Regions from separate parts of the Homo sapiens genome. Here region 1 is linked to region 2. Evidence: promoter capture Hi-C in human tissues and cell types (Jung and others, 2019). All regions are on one chromosome and are shown on one strand. Each heading gives the region's core, a stretch centred on a gene start or on the middle of the fragment in contact. The rest is flanking DNA. Distances are from core to core; before and after follow the strand shown. Region 1 overlaps TCAIM (T cell activation inhibitor, mitochondrial). Region 2 holds the start of ZNF445 (zinc finger protein 445).

Evidence for each region. Contacts are between HindIII fragments. The study calls those that stand out against the background at their distance.
Region 1: a fragment that was not itself captured here is called in contact with the fragment with the promoter of ZNF445 in region 2 in 2 of the 25 tissues and cell types used here (H1 embryonic stem cells and spleen).

What each region holds. Positions count from the first base shown.
Region 1 is chr3:44,401,893-44,408,625 of GRCh38, reverse strand. It overlaps TCAIM (T cell activation inhibitor, mitochondrial), which reads right to left. Exons shown (of 11, transcript NM_173826.4): 11 at 1-1,184. The coding sequence ends at 944. Among named protein-coding and RNA genes, the nearest start is that of LINC01988, 23 kb to the left of the region's middle. The HindIII fragment of the contact is 8,371 bases long and covers 1-6,733 here.
Region 2 is chr3:44,475,113-44,481,469 of GRCh38, reverse strand. It overlaps ZNF445 (zinc finger protein 445), which reads left to right and starts at 3,800. Exons shown (of 8, transcript NM_181489.6): 1 at 3,800-3,879. It overlaps LOC101928529 (a long non-coding RNA gene), which reads right to left and starts at 3,780. Exons shown (of 4, transcript XR_940785.4): 1 at 3,261-3,780; 2 at 2,801-2,888. RefSeq lists silencers at 3,823-3,982, 4,003-4,052. The HindIII fragment of the contact is 14,864 bases long and covers 1-6,357 here.

The sequences.
Region 1 (6,733 bases), core at 2,051-4,550, 72 kb after region 2:
GTTTGCCCATGAAACAAATGAATCACCTCACTAAATGATTAAAAAACATTTCCTGTTGGTTTCATACTACTAACAATTATAATATTTTAATGGATAGGAGAAATTATGGGTTTAAAATTAAATTCTCTGTTAATGCACACGTTTCAATAAACTGGTTATCAGACTGCTTATGACAATGTCAGTACCATACATTCAACTGCTTTTAGTCCTTCTAGTCTTTCTCTTGGGCAAAATTGGTGGTTATCTAATTTCTGTTACCTATCAATCACCTGTTTTGGACATTAACTGTCAATTACTGGCTGCAAAATATGTCTGTGTATATTTACATGAGATGTAACTATACAGATGCATGTTGAATTGTAGACATGAGTTCCATTATTTCAGAGCTATACTCTGAATGTGAGACCTTTATATTTACACACACATACCTCTCCAGCCCAACCCAACATTCATTCATATAAAAATATATGACTATTGTAGAATCCTTCATTTACATATCACTAAAAATATGTTCTTTCATTCTAACATCTTTTTATCTAGCCTTGCCAACCAACATCATAAGACTGGGATATAAAATCTTTTTATTAGTTACTTATTTATTTTAAATTATCATTATTATTTTTTGAGACAAGGTCTTGTTCTGTTGCTCAGGCTGGAGGGCAATGGTGCAATCTGGGCCCACTGCAACCTTGGCCTCCTGGGCTCAAGTGATCCTCCTATCTTAGCCTCCCTAAGTAGCTGGGACCGCAGGCATGAGCCACCACGCCTGGCATATAAAACCTCTCCTAGCAGAAATTAATTTTTTTAAAAAAGTCTACTTTTAAAGCAGCAGTTAGAAACTTTGTTCTTATGTAAATAATACTGTTATATCAAATTGTGGATTTAAATATTTTTAATTTAAGTTCCTTTCTTATCTCTTAAAAAAATAAAACAGATTTCTGTGTTACTTAATGGCTTCTCCATTCTTCCAATTCCAAGGAATACAAAGGTCTCCATCTTGCATAACAGAGTAAAAATGTGAAATGCAGAGGTGCATCCCATGTAGGTAAGGCAGTGATTGTTCTAGAAGTCTCTTACAACAATCCACCATTTGTATACTAGAAATGCTGGGCTCTTTATATAACTTCTCCAAAGAAAATTTCTTTGTTGATGCCTGTATCAATTCATTTTCAATAACCTTTAACCTATTATATAGAAAATAAAAATATTGTCATAAGAACAAATATTGTCATAACCAAACAAAAGAACACACAATGTAAATATATTCTTACATGTTGGGGCCCTAACTGTGCACTCACAACACTGAAAATGCCACCCACAAAGGCCAAATTATACGTTTGGAAGACACGCCAATAGCCATCATTGTTAAATCTTTTGAGTTACTGTCACATGGATCTCTAAAAGTATTTGTTAATGTTTTTAGCAGTAAAGGGCTAAAAATAACATAAATTTAAAAAAGCTCTTATATTGCCTTACCTAGCAGCTGTTAGTGACTGAAGGAAGGAGAAAATGAAGAATATAAAACCCCTAGTTTTAGGACCCACCTAAAGTTTAACCCTTGGGAAGTAATGCTGTCTAAAGATTTCCCAGATAAAAGCAGGCTCACAGAAAACCAGGATCCTGAGGAGGACAGGTTCTCTTCACTCTTACTCTCCTACCTCACCAGCCCCCTGTCTGTTCCCTCCCCTCTGCCTGAGGTTACAACTCTCTTATTCCATCAGGGGCTTCAGTTCAGGTCTACAAAGTATACAACTCTAGGCAGAACTCAGTGTCTCAAATACTTTCTCCCACAGGTGGCAAGTGCTTAGGGATACAGTGTTTTGATAAGTGGATTCAATGTGCTACATCTAGACCAACACATGAGTTACTCAGCAAGCCCATTTAACAACGTGAATAAAGCAAAACTGCCATGGTCGTGTCCCTGAACCAGTCTATTTAAAATACTTCATTGGTTTAAAATGTCCAAATATCTTACATTTAATCACCCTTAAACACTGCATAGAAAAGTAGGTACTATAAAATTTCCATAAACTAGACAGTAAAAAACAGAAATGGTCATAGCAGTTAGTTATCATGGCCTATAATACTGATCACTTTCTTAAGTGCTGTTTGCTTTTTCTGTAAGATTATTCTTACTTAGAATATGCTGCTTAGAGATTCAAGCAGACAGACAGCAGTCAGGGCTGATGGTTCTGCAAATGTTTCACAGCTGGGCCTGCTTCTAATCTCTCCAGGATTAGACAGAAAGAACCCTTAAACTTCTATCAATAGCAGGGGATGAGTAACTTTTTCTGTAAAGGGATTTTTCACTTGTCAAGAAAAGATATTAACAACCATGCTTGGAAGTGAAAAGCCTTGTAGTGTGACCATGTTGCTGCATAGTTCTCCAACAATATATCTTTAAAATCTGGGCAAGACTCTCATTTTCATTCCTTTTAGGAGAAGCCTACAGTCTCATCTCCAGGTTTCCCAGACCCATGGGTCACAAGCTTTATATCAGGAGAACCCATCAGTTCTTCTGAGGTACAATCTTAGAGAAGCATTGAGAAGGCAGCCCTTGTTAAGGTTGCCCAGGGTTGTCCCCTCAACAGGAAAATAACGTGTACCAGCCTTTCCTCATCCTTGGGTGCCTCTGCAGTCAGCATGAGATTAATTTTTTTTTTTTTTTTTTTTTGAGATGGAGTCTTGCTCTGTCGCCCAGGCTGGAGTGCAGTGGCGTGATCTTGGCTCACTGTAACCTCTGCTTCCCAGGTTCAAGCGATTCTCCTGCCTCAGCCTCCCAAGTAGCTGGGATTGCATGCATGTACCACCATGCCCGGCTGTTTTTTCTATAGTAGAGGCAGGGTTTTGCCATGTTGGCCAGGCTGGTCTTCAACTACTGACCTTAGGTGATCCACCCGCCTCAGCCTCCCAAAGTGCTGGGATTACAGGTGTGAGCCACTGTGCCTGGCCTTGAGATAGGGTCTTGCTGTTGCCCAGGCTGGAGTATCACTGTCGTGACCATGGTTCACTGCAGCCTTGACCACCCAGGCTTAGGCAAACCTCCTGCCTCAGCTTCCCAAGTAGCTGAGACTACAGGTGCAAACCACCACACCCAGCTAATTTTTAAATTTTTTGTAGAGACGAGGTCTCACCATGTAGCCCAGACTGGTCTTGAACTCCAGGGCTCAAGTGATCCTCCTGCCTTAGCCTCCCAAAGTGCTGGGATTATAACTGTGAGCCACCATGCCCACCCTTTAGTCATTGTTTCTACTACATGCAAGTATCAGAACTACTTAAACACTCTTCTATTACTGTACATTTTGATTGTTTCCAACTTATTTAAGTGATTTTAAAATTTGAAATATATGATATAGAGTAAAAGGAAACATCTGAGTGGGTTACTATAAAAACATAAAGTGAGGAATGCCCCTGCTAGGGAGAGCTGGTTGATTCTCAGGTGCAGGTTACTCTGGGTTATTACCACCCTACAGAAGAACTGTGAACTAGGTTATCACCAGCCTCCAAAGGACTGGGGGTTCCACAGGCAGCAAATACTGTCTATATGCCAGCCAGGCAATGCCAAGAGACAGGAGCTACAAGTCACACAGTTTTGGGATGGTCATGTGGGTTGTACATACTAGCTTAGAATAGTGTGGGTTTTTTCCCTTTTTCTAACTATTCAGCAAGCTGAGAGTCCAGCAGAGCTGCTACTGTGAGGACCCTGTGAGCATGGGTGGCCTCTGGCTCCTTTTCTTTTGAACTAGAACAGCTGAGAGCTTTAATCTTTTTTATTAGGTTGGTGCAAAAGTAATTGCAGTTTTTTGCCATAAAAAAATGGCAAAAACTGCAATTACTTTTGCACCAACCTAATAAAAATAAACTATGTTTCCACTTAAGAATCCACCTTATAAGTGAAAAAGTATCTGAAAACCACTCTCTAGGAACATGCTTCACTGAAGGAAAGAAGTTAGTCTTCATCACTGCTCTTCGAATATAATGAAGGTGTCTTACTAGGGCAGGGACAGCAGAGCAAAGGAAGGAAAGACAGCAAAGGCGAGGAGAGGCTCCTGGGCCCAGAGTCAGGGGCATGAGGATGATGACTGAGCAGGAAGGAAGGTTGGGACCAACAGCAAGTGCTTTCTCTTCTTGGGGGCTAAGTATAGGGATGAGGACTCTGGGGCCCAGAGCCAGAAAAAGGCTAAGGAAGCAGGTGAAAGGTCAATCGGTATTTCCTGAAGGCCCCCTGTGTGCCAGGCACCCATCCCAGTTGGCACCGGAGGGAACAAAATAGACTGAAGTCTTCCCTCAGTGGGCTTACCTTCTGTTGGGAAGGAGAGAGAGAGAATACATTAATAAGGAAACAGCAAATTTGCTGAGGTGGATGGAGAAAGGCAGGCCAGCTGAGGTGGAGAGGGGAGTGCAGCAGAGGGTGGGGACTCCATGCTTCGAGTTGTGTGGCCAGAGAAGGTGGAATGTGAGCAGGGCCTGAGGAAGCTGAGATTTCTGAGGAAGGAGTGCCTCAGGCTGGGGGAAGGCACACAGGCCCAGGAGTGGATAACATGTCAAGAGTGCCCGAGGACTATAAAAAGGCTGGAGCAGAACGAGTGAGAGGAGAGTCCCAGGAGCTGAGCTGAGAGAAGCAAGGGAGTGGGCAGAGGGTCTGTGGGCACTGGGCAGAGGAGTGACAGCTCTGACTAGGTTCCCACTGCTGCTCTGACGAGAGTCCACTGCGGGGTTGGGGAGATGCTGAGTGTGGAAGCCTGAAGACCAGACAAGAGGCCATCACAAAATGATGGAGGCTCAGACCAGGTGCAGCAGGAAAGGAAAGGAGAAGAGGTGAGTTTCTTTCCATGTCTGCTCTGAAGGTGGACTGGGGTAGGGAGTGAGACAGGGGAGAGGAATCAAGATGATTCATGGGTTTTTATTCGCCTGAGCAACTGGTAGGACGGAACATTCACAAATTGACCTATTTGAATTTTTTTATTTTTACTTTCCTTTCTCACAATCTAATAAGCATTACTCCAAAGCTATATAATGGCCATAGAGAAAAAGAGAAAAAGCAGCCGATAGGTTATAGCAAACAAAATAATCAGTCCTAATGATGAACAGTTGGCTAGAATTGCTCTTGAGGGTTAAAGCAGATGTAAAATTTAGAAAAGAAATAGCATGAACAAATACTTAACAACCAATCAAGAGGTAGGGTGTGATAGGATCTGGCCTACCGAGTTGTCATCAATTCCATAAGGAAAACAGGAAAACAAAAGAGATGCTGCTCCTTCATTTACTTTATATATAAAATGATCTCACTGTCTCTTGCTAAAAGAATGGCTTCCATCGTTAGTTGCCATCCCTTCTCTCTATTTATTTATTTTTCTGAGACGGAGTCTCGCTCTGTTGCCCAGGCTGGAGTGCAATGGCATGATCTCGGCTCACTGCAAGCTCCACCTCCCAGGTTCAAGTGATTCTCCTGTCTCAGCCTCCCGAGTAGCTGGGATTACAGGTGCATGCCACCACGCCCAGCTAATTTTTATATTTTTAGTAGAGACGGCGTTTCACCATGTTGGCCAGGCTGGTCTCAAACTCCTGACCTCAAGTGATCCGCCCACCTCGGCCTCCCAAAGTGCTGAGATTAAAGGTGTGAGCCACCATATCTAGCCTCTCTCTATATTTAAGATTCCTGGCTTTTTAAATGAGTACTTTGTGGAAACTGAGCCTCAAATGAACGGTAAGGCGGGAGAACTGCTTCCACTGGCACCCTGCTAAACAACCAGGTTCCATCACCCTGTCCTCTTCTCTTCTCCTTGAAACTTCCCTCCATGGACATGTGGAATGGCATTCTCTCCAGCTTCCATCCTGTTCCCTGCTGTTGCCTTCCCTTGTCCCCTATGCTACCAGGGTGTCAGCTTTGGCTCTTCCCACTTGACTGTGCTCCAGCTACCACTGGCAAATTTACAGCACTCACATCTCCTACTAGAAACAATTCCAGGAGGCAGAGATCATGTCTGAGTCTTTCTATCAATGGCATTGATCTCAGCTTTGGGCACGTAACAGTCACAGTAAATGCTGGCTAAGTAAATGACTTCATTTCTTCACAAGTGATACATAAAACATTATCAAGCAATATCTTACCACCTACAAAACAGGAAACTGTTGGCTATAATAGGACTCCTTCAAAGATACAAACAACATAAAAACAATACTGCTTAGGAACTAAAATGATACATATATTTTTTTGAGAAAGGATTTCATTATGTCACCCAGGCTGGAGTACAGAGGTGTGATCACAGCTCACTGCAGCCTTGACCACCCAGGCTCAATCAATCCTCCCACCTCAGCCTCCTGAGTAGCTGGGATACAGGCATGGTGCCATGCCTGGCTAATTTTTTTTTTTTTTCCCCACCATATTGCCCAGGGTTTCACCATGTTGCCTAGACTGGTCTTGAACTCCTGGGCTCAAGTGATCTCCTTGCCTTGGCCTCCTAAAGTGCTGGGATTACAGGCTTGAGCCACTGTGCACGGCCTAAAATGATTTTTTGCTTTAAGGTTTCTTCTCAAGTTAATTAAAATGCAGATAAAGTTTTATTTATATCAATAGTTAAAACGTTTATTTTTTTTCTTTTTCTCACTCTTTCATTCAGGCTGGAGTGCAGTGGCATGATCTCGGCTCACTGCAACCTCTGCCTCCTGGGTTCAACCCATTCTCCTGCCTCAGTCTCCTGAGTAGCTGGGACTAGAGGTGACCGCCATAACA
Region 2 (6,357 bases), core at 2,551-5,050:
TAGGCCAGGTGCAGCGGCTCACGCCTGTAATCCCAGCACTTTGGGAAGCTGAGGTGTGTGGATCACCTGAGATCAGGAGTTCAAGGCCAGCCTGGCCAACATGGTGAAACCCTGTCTCTACTAAAAATACAAAAATTAGCTGGGTGTGGTGGTGGGCGCCTGTAATCTCAGCTACTCAGGAGGCTGAGGCAAGAGAATCACTTGAACCCAGGAGGCAGAGGTTGCAGTGAGCTGAGATCGTGCCACTGCACTCCAGCCTGGTGACAGAGTGAGACTCCGTCTCAAAAATAAATAAATAAATAAATAAATAAATAATAAAGACCAAATTAGGTTTTGTTAGTGATTCTAGATTCGGGCAACATCTCATTCTATAAAATAGAACGGGTATTCTGATAAGCTGAACAGAGGAGATTGGCTTTATAAGCAGAAAAAGGCCAAAGAAAGCAAAAATAGGGAACCAAAGGCAGACTGGTTGGCATTAGTTATTTCAGATTACTTTCCTTGTAAGGATTAAAGCGGAGGGGCCTTCGTTATCATGCCAGCTAAATCTGGCCTGTTTGAGGATTTGGCTATTATCACAATAGAGACCTCCTAAGGGCCTGGGTTAGACATAGAGAAGATTGATTAGTCAACAAATGTTTATTGAGTACATACTATGTAGTCAGTGCTGTTCTAAGTACTTGAGGTATAGCAATGCATAAAAGCAAAGATTCCATAGTTTTTCTTCCTCATGGCTATGGTCTGACTCAAAGATTCTTTCACCCCCTCCACTACCAATAAAGTTTAAATTCGTGTATATTCTCTCCTGGCTTCCTGATCCTCTCTCTTTCTCTACTTTTATGTTCAGATGCAAGGAATATCCTCTGCAGAAAAAGATGGAGGGTGGAGGAGGGAGTTGAGTTCAATTTTTCATTTTAAGTCCTTCATTAGTACTAAATGCATCAGTATTTCTTTGATATAAATGATAATTTTAAAATTCATTTAAAGTTGGATCACCTTCTAAAATCTCATTAAAATGTATTTTTCAATATCTTAGAATTAGAGGCAGAAGGGGGAATTCAGAGAAGATTAATTATATGATATAATATGTAATATATTTCAAATGGCCACAATTACACATAATTTAACTGCTTAAACATTTGTTTTATGTTTTTCTTATAGAAGAGTACACTAATCCAATGGATCACAGTAATCACCATCCTCAGATACATTGCTCTATTTTATTTTCATCCTAATATTTCAACCTGCCTCCTTCAAACTACAGAGAAGGGGCTGAGTTTGAGGCCAGAAAAGGAGTGAAAATCCTACCAGGCCAATTTGTTTGCCCACAACTGATTCTTAGTTTTAACATCTTATCTCTTTTCTCAAGTCACATTCCAGATCCCCATCTCAACACCCCAATTTTTTCTTCCCCATTTCAAAATAAGAAGAAAAAAATTAAGGAGGAAATTTCCCCCTTCTGTTTGAAAGGCAGAATCCTGATACACTTTAAATTCCAAAACAAAGAAGCAAATGAACATGCAATCCTTTAGCATGTGGTTTTTACATGTAGCAAGGAATCAGGGTAAAAGGATAATTATCTACTTCCAGGTTCTCAAATGTTGGAATCATCTAGGGATTTTAAAATCTAGGCTTGTCAGTGTCTCACCCACAAAGATTTGGATTGAATTGATATGAGGTATGGACTTTTTAAAAGCTCTGAGGAGGATTCTAATCTGCAGCAAAGTTAAGAACCACTGATTTACATGCACAGTTCTTTGCTTCTCCAAGTGTGGTCCAAGAACTGCAATATGGGTACACCTGGAAGTTTGTTAAAAATATTCGTTGGTCCCTCCCCAGACCTCCTGAATTTGAATCTACAGTTTAACCAGATCCCAAGTGATTTGTATTCATATGCACATGAGAATTTGAGAATCTTACCTAGGGCTTTTACTAAGCAAACTGCCCCGATCTGAAAGAGTACAGTGCTCAGGAAGTACAGCTAGCAAGAATATGCCTCCTACCAGAAAAGTGAAGAAACCTCATGGTTATAGGCTCGAGTGCTGTGGCACTCGGAGAAATCAGGTATTAGCAGAACTTCGAGATTCAAGAAGCTGTATAGGTCTTAAAATCAGAGCTGCACTCCCAGTGGCTGCTTCCCGAACTTTGCAAGTGCTGGTGAAGCCAATTTGGTTGATCTGTTTGATCACACTAAATGTGGGTGCTATCCATGCTAACCACCTATCACGTTGAAAAACATCCAGTAAGTACATCCCAAACACAGAGAACCTGCTCAAACTCTTCTACGATGGGAAAATTTTGTTCTCAAACAAAACTTGAAAACTCTTCTCACCACTATGGGTGGTTCTGAGTCACTCAAGAACATTATATCGAGTGGAAATTAATGGACAAATTAGGCATTGACAAGCAGTTTCTATTTTCCTTTTTGTATGTGTTGGATATTTTCCAATTGCCCCTCCATATTCAGTCTCAGTCCTCAACCCTGCTGTGACACTTGGGAGACTGAGTTTCCTGGATTGCCCTCTGGCTTCCAGTTGAGTTGGGCCAATGGGAAGCCCTGGCAGGAGATCAGAAGAGAGCTGGGTTCAGGTTATTTATTACCTCAGCTTCCTTTGTGCTGGACTATGGCTTGGATGTAGCCCTCAACTGAAAGCCACAGTTTCTCTCAGATGGCCTGCTCCTAGGGGTGAGAATAGCTTCTAAATTTTGCTAGCCATGGGATTCTGCACCACTCCGTGTTGCATTTCCTTAACCCTGTCCACTTTGTGTAAATCGCCCCTTGTGAACTCTCCCCACTTACCTTGTTTGAATGTGCCATCTGTTTCTCTATCACCTTGTCACCATCTTCCTGGTGTTCAGGATCTATTCTCTGTTTCCATCTTTGGTGACTGGGGCATTAAAAAGGGGTGGATCAGATGAGTAAAGCAAAGCCTCAGGGCACAGATGGGCATCATCAATGCCCATCTGAAAGATCAATCGTCAACATGTTGCAGCCTGCCACTAGGAAGCACAAACCAGAGGACTACCAGGACAGCAGCTTGTAGCATGCCCTCCAATGGCAGCAGATGGCCTTATGGCTTTGGCTGTGCACCCTCAAGGTTCTCTGGCACTGGCAATAGATGACATTTGCTCCTACAGGGGGTGGGCAACCTCTCCAGGTTGCTTCACCTCCTCTTCAAGCAGCCCCTCCACCCCCTACCCCCAACCTACTCCTCCCAGATTCCACATATTATTGGGCAATGGCATCATTGTTCACTCACCAGGCGAGCCTAGTTAGAATTCACCCACAGGAGAAAACGAGTGAAGGCCGTGGGAAGCTAAAGTATGGTGCACCTCTGAGCTGGCTATGAACAAGTATTCCTGGGTATGGTGATGATGGGGATGAGCTCGTCTTGGAAAGGCAGGAGTTCTGGCACCTAGCTTCCCGTAGGATCTGGTTCCCCTCTTTGAAGTGTACCCAGGCGAAGAATGAGTGGCTCCCTTAACCCCTTCTCCTGGCCAGGACCAGTCTGCTAGATACTGCTGGCCCTATTTTCACCCCTAGCTTTGGATCCCTTTCTTCCCTGGAGGGAAAGAGGCCTTCAGGGCAGCCCCGCAGACACGACAGGAGGGATGCAAGAAAACAGGCGCGGCTGGGCATCCGAGCGTGGAAGGGAAATGTCCAACTGAGGGAGGTGAGGGATGTTGGACAAGCCCCGCCGCCCGCCGCACCGGAGCCGGAGAGAAGCAGAGACGTTGGGCCTCCCAGTTTCCTAGAGAGGCCGCGGAGGGCCCCGGGCGCCGACGCGCGTGCGCGACTGGAGCCGCCGGGAGGTAGGCGCGGGACGGGCGGCTGCGGTGGCGGCGGGTGGACCGATTGTCGCTCGGCGGCGGGAGTCGGTGAGAGGCCTGGCGGGGCGCGGGGGTGGGGGTGGCGGCATTGCGGGCGCGGGGCTCCCCGAAGTCCGCGGCATTCTCGGGCCTGCCCGGGCGGCGGACGGGGCCCGGCCTGGAGGCTGCGCCCGTGGCGGGGGTCTGGCGGTGGATCCCGCCCCCGCCACGCTGAGGGCGTATCTAGAACCTCTTTGCCTCCCAGGCGTCCGGGGTAGAGAATCTGGAGCCCGGGTTTCTCCGGGCTTTCTCGTTTCATCCAATTCTGCATATAAAGCGTATTTATCAGAGACAATTAGATAACACGGGAAAGTAGAAGAAAAGTAAAAGTAGCCGCAATCCTGAAATCTGTCTCCAGGCCTCCTGACATTTAAAATATCTGTGCATAATTCTGCACACTGACATCCATAAATATATATTACGAAATGAGAGCGTGCTCTTGCTTTTTAAAAAACCTGTTAGTATTATTGTGAGGAAACAATATTGTGCCAAAATAACACATAACATTTACCATACAATACATAAACGTTTACCATTTAACCATTTGGAAGTGTGTAATTCAGTGACATTAAGTATATCCATACTACTGCTTTTTAAAAATTATAATCTCCTGAATTTGTAGAATGCATTTGTTCTTATTTTGGCTAAAATTAGTGCTGGCATTATGACACCACTAAAACATTTTTTTTTTGGCGAGGATAATTAAGAAATCGTGTTTGCAGTTTATTTTCTGTAGGAGACACATTTGCATGAAGCTCTAAATGGTGAAGTGACATTTGTGCAGAAAAATAGCAAAATCTTGTTTGTCAGGGTGGTTATCTTTCACAATGAAGTAACTAGTATATAAAATGCAGTTTTTAAACAAAGGCAGAGCTCTAACCTGCAGCGATTGTAGCACACTCTGACTTGCACAGGCCTAAGAGATCAGAGTATTGTCTCCTTCCGAATTTAAAAGTGGTGGCCAGGAAAGAATGTTATTCTGTTTCAAACGGCTTGTAGTGCAAAACTAAAAACTCAGTATTAGGTTGGTTGTTTTGCAAGGAAGTGCCAGGGAGTGGTTTGAGCAGTAATTTGATTAAGCAGTTTCAGAGAGCCTCCATGTGTTGTGTGTGTGTCTGCGTGTGTGTGTGTGCATGCATGTGTGTGCATATTCAGGGACCAAAGAATTAGGCTGCTCTTTTATGTTATCTTAATGAAAGGCAGACACATTTTGGTTAGAAAAAAAAAAAAGTCTTACTGTAAGCCGAAAAGATGAGAATGTTTTGAAGATAAACCTCAGTATGCACTTAAAAAGGAAACTGACAAAAAGCATGAAAAATGGCAAGTATTCCACCGCTAGGTTTTCTCTGGCTTCCGGTATCCAGGAAGAATTAGTGCATAAGCAGTCTACGATGTCAGAGAGTAAACTATAGTAAAACATAACACTGTATTTTGCAATTTTCAAGATTTTGTATTAGAAACAATGTGAAAGAGTACATTTCTGTGACTCTCAGGCGAATTGTTAGGTGTTCTGTAAGATTGAATTTATGAATTTCTTTTTTTCCTTCCTATTCTTAAATTTATTTTCTTTTTCCTTGTTTATTTTATTTATTTTATTTTTGAGACGGAGTTTCACTCTTGTTGCCCAGGCTGGAGTGCAGTGGTGCAAACTCGGCTCACTGCAGCCTCCGCCTCCTGGGTTCAAGTGATTCTCCTGCCTCAGCCTCCCAAGTAGCTGGGATTACAGGTGTGTGCCACCACGCCCAGCTAATTTTTGTATTTTAAGTAAAGACGGGGTTTCACCGTATTGGTCAGGCTGGTCTCGAACTCCCGACCTCAGGTGATCTGCCTGCCTCAGCCTCCCAAAATGCTGGGATTACAGGCGTGAGCCACCGTGCCCGCCTCTTGTTTTATATTACTATGTAGCAGCTGTCACTGTTTAGCATACCACGAATCTGTCTCCTCATAGACGCCTCAAGGCAGTACTGGAACATACAGTAGGTTCTCAATAAATATATGACAAATTAATGAAAGAAGGAATCCAAATTGGTAGATAAAAATTGACAGTATTAAATGTCCTCGATTTTTAAGAGCCACTTACCAAGTTAATCTTTAATACCTGGCTGAGCATGGTGGCTCATGCCTGTAATCCCAGCACTTTGGGAGGCTGAGGTGGGTGGGTCACCTGAGGTCAGGAGTTCAAGACCAGCCTGGCCAGCATGGTGAAACCCCATCTCTACTAAAAATACAAAAAATTAGCTGGGCATGGTGGCGGGCACCTGTAATCCCAGCTACTTGGGAGGCTGAGGCAGGAGAATTGCTTGAACCCAGGAGGCGGAGGTTGCAGTGAGTGGAGGTCACGCCATCGTACTCCAGCCTGGGCAACAAGAGTGAAACTCCGTCTCAAAAAAACAAAACAAAACCTGTAATACCTAAAATGGAAATAAATCAGATAAAAATGATGATGACTGAATGACTGGAACTTCTCAATGTAAGATAAGACAAACC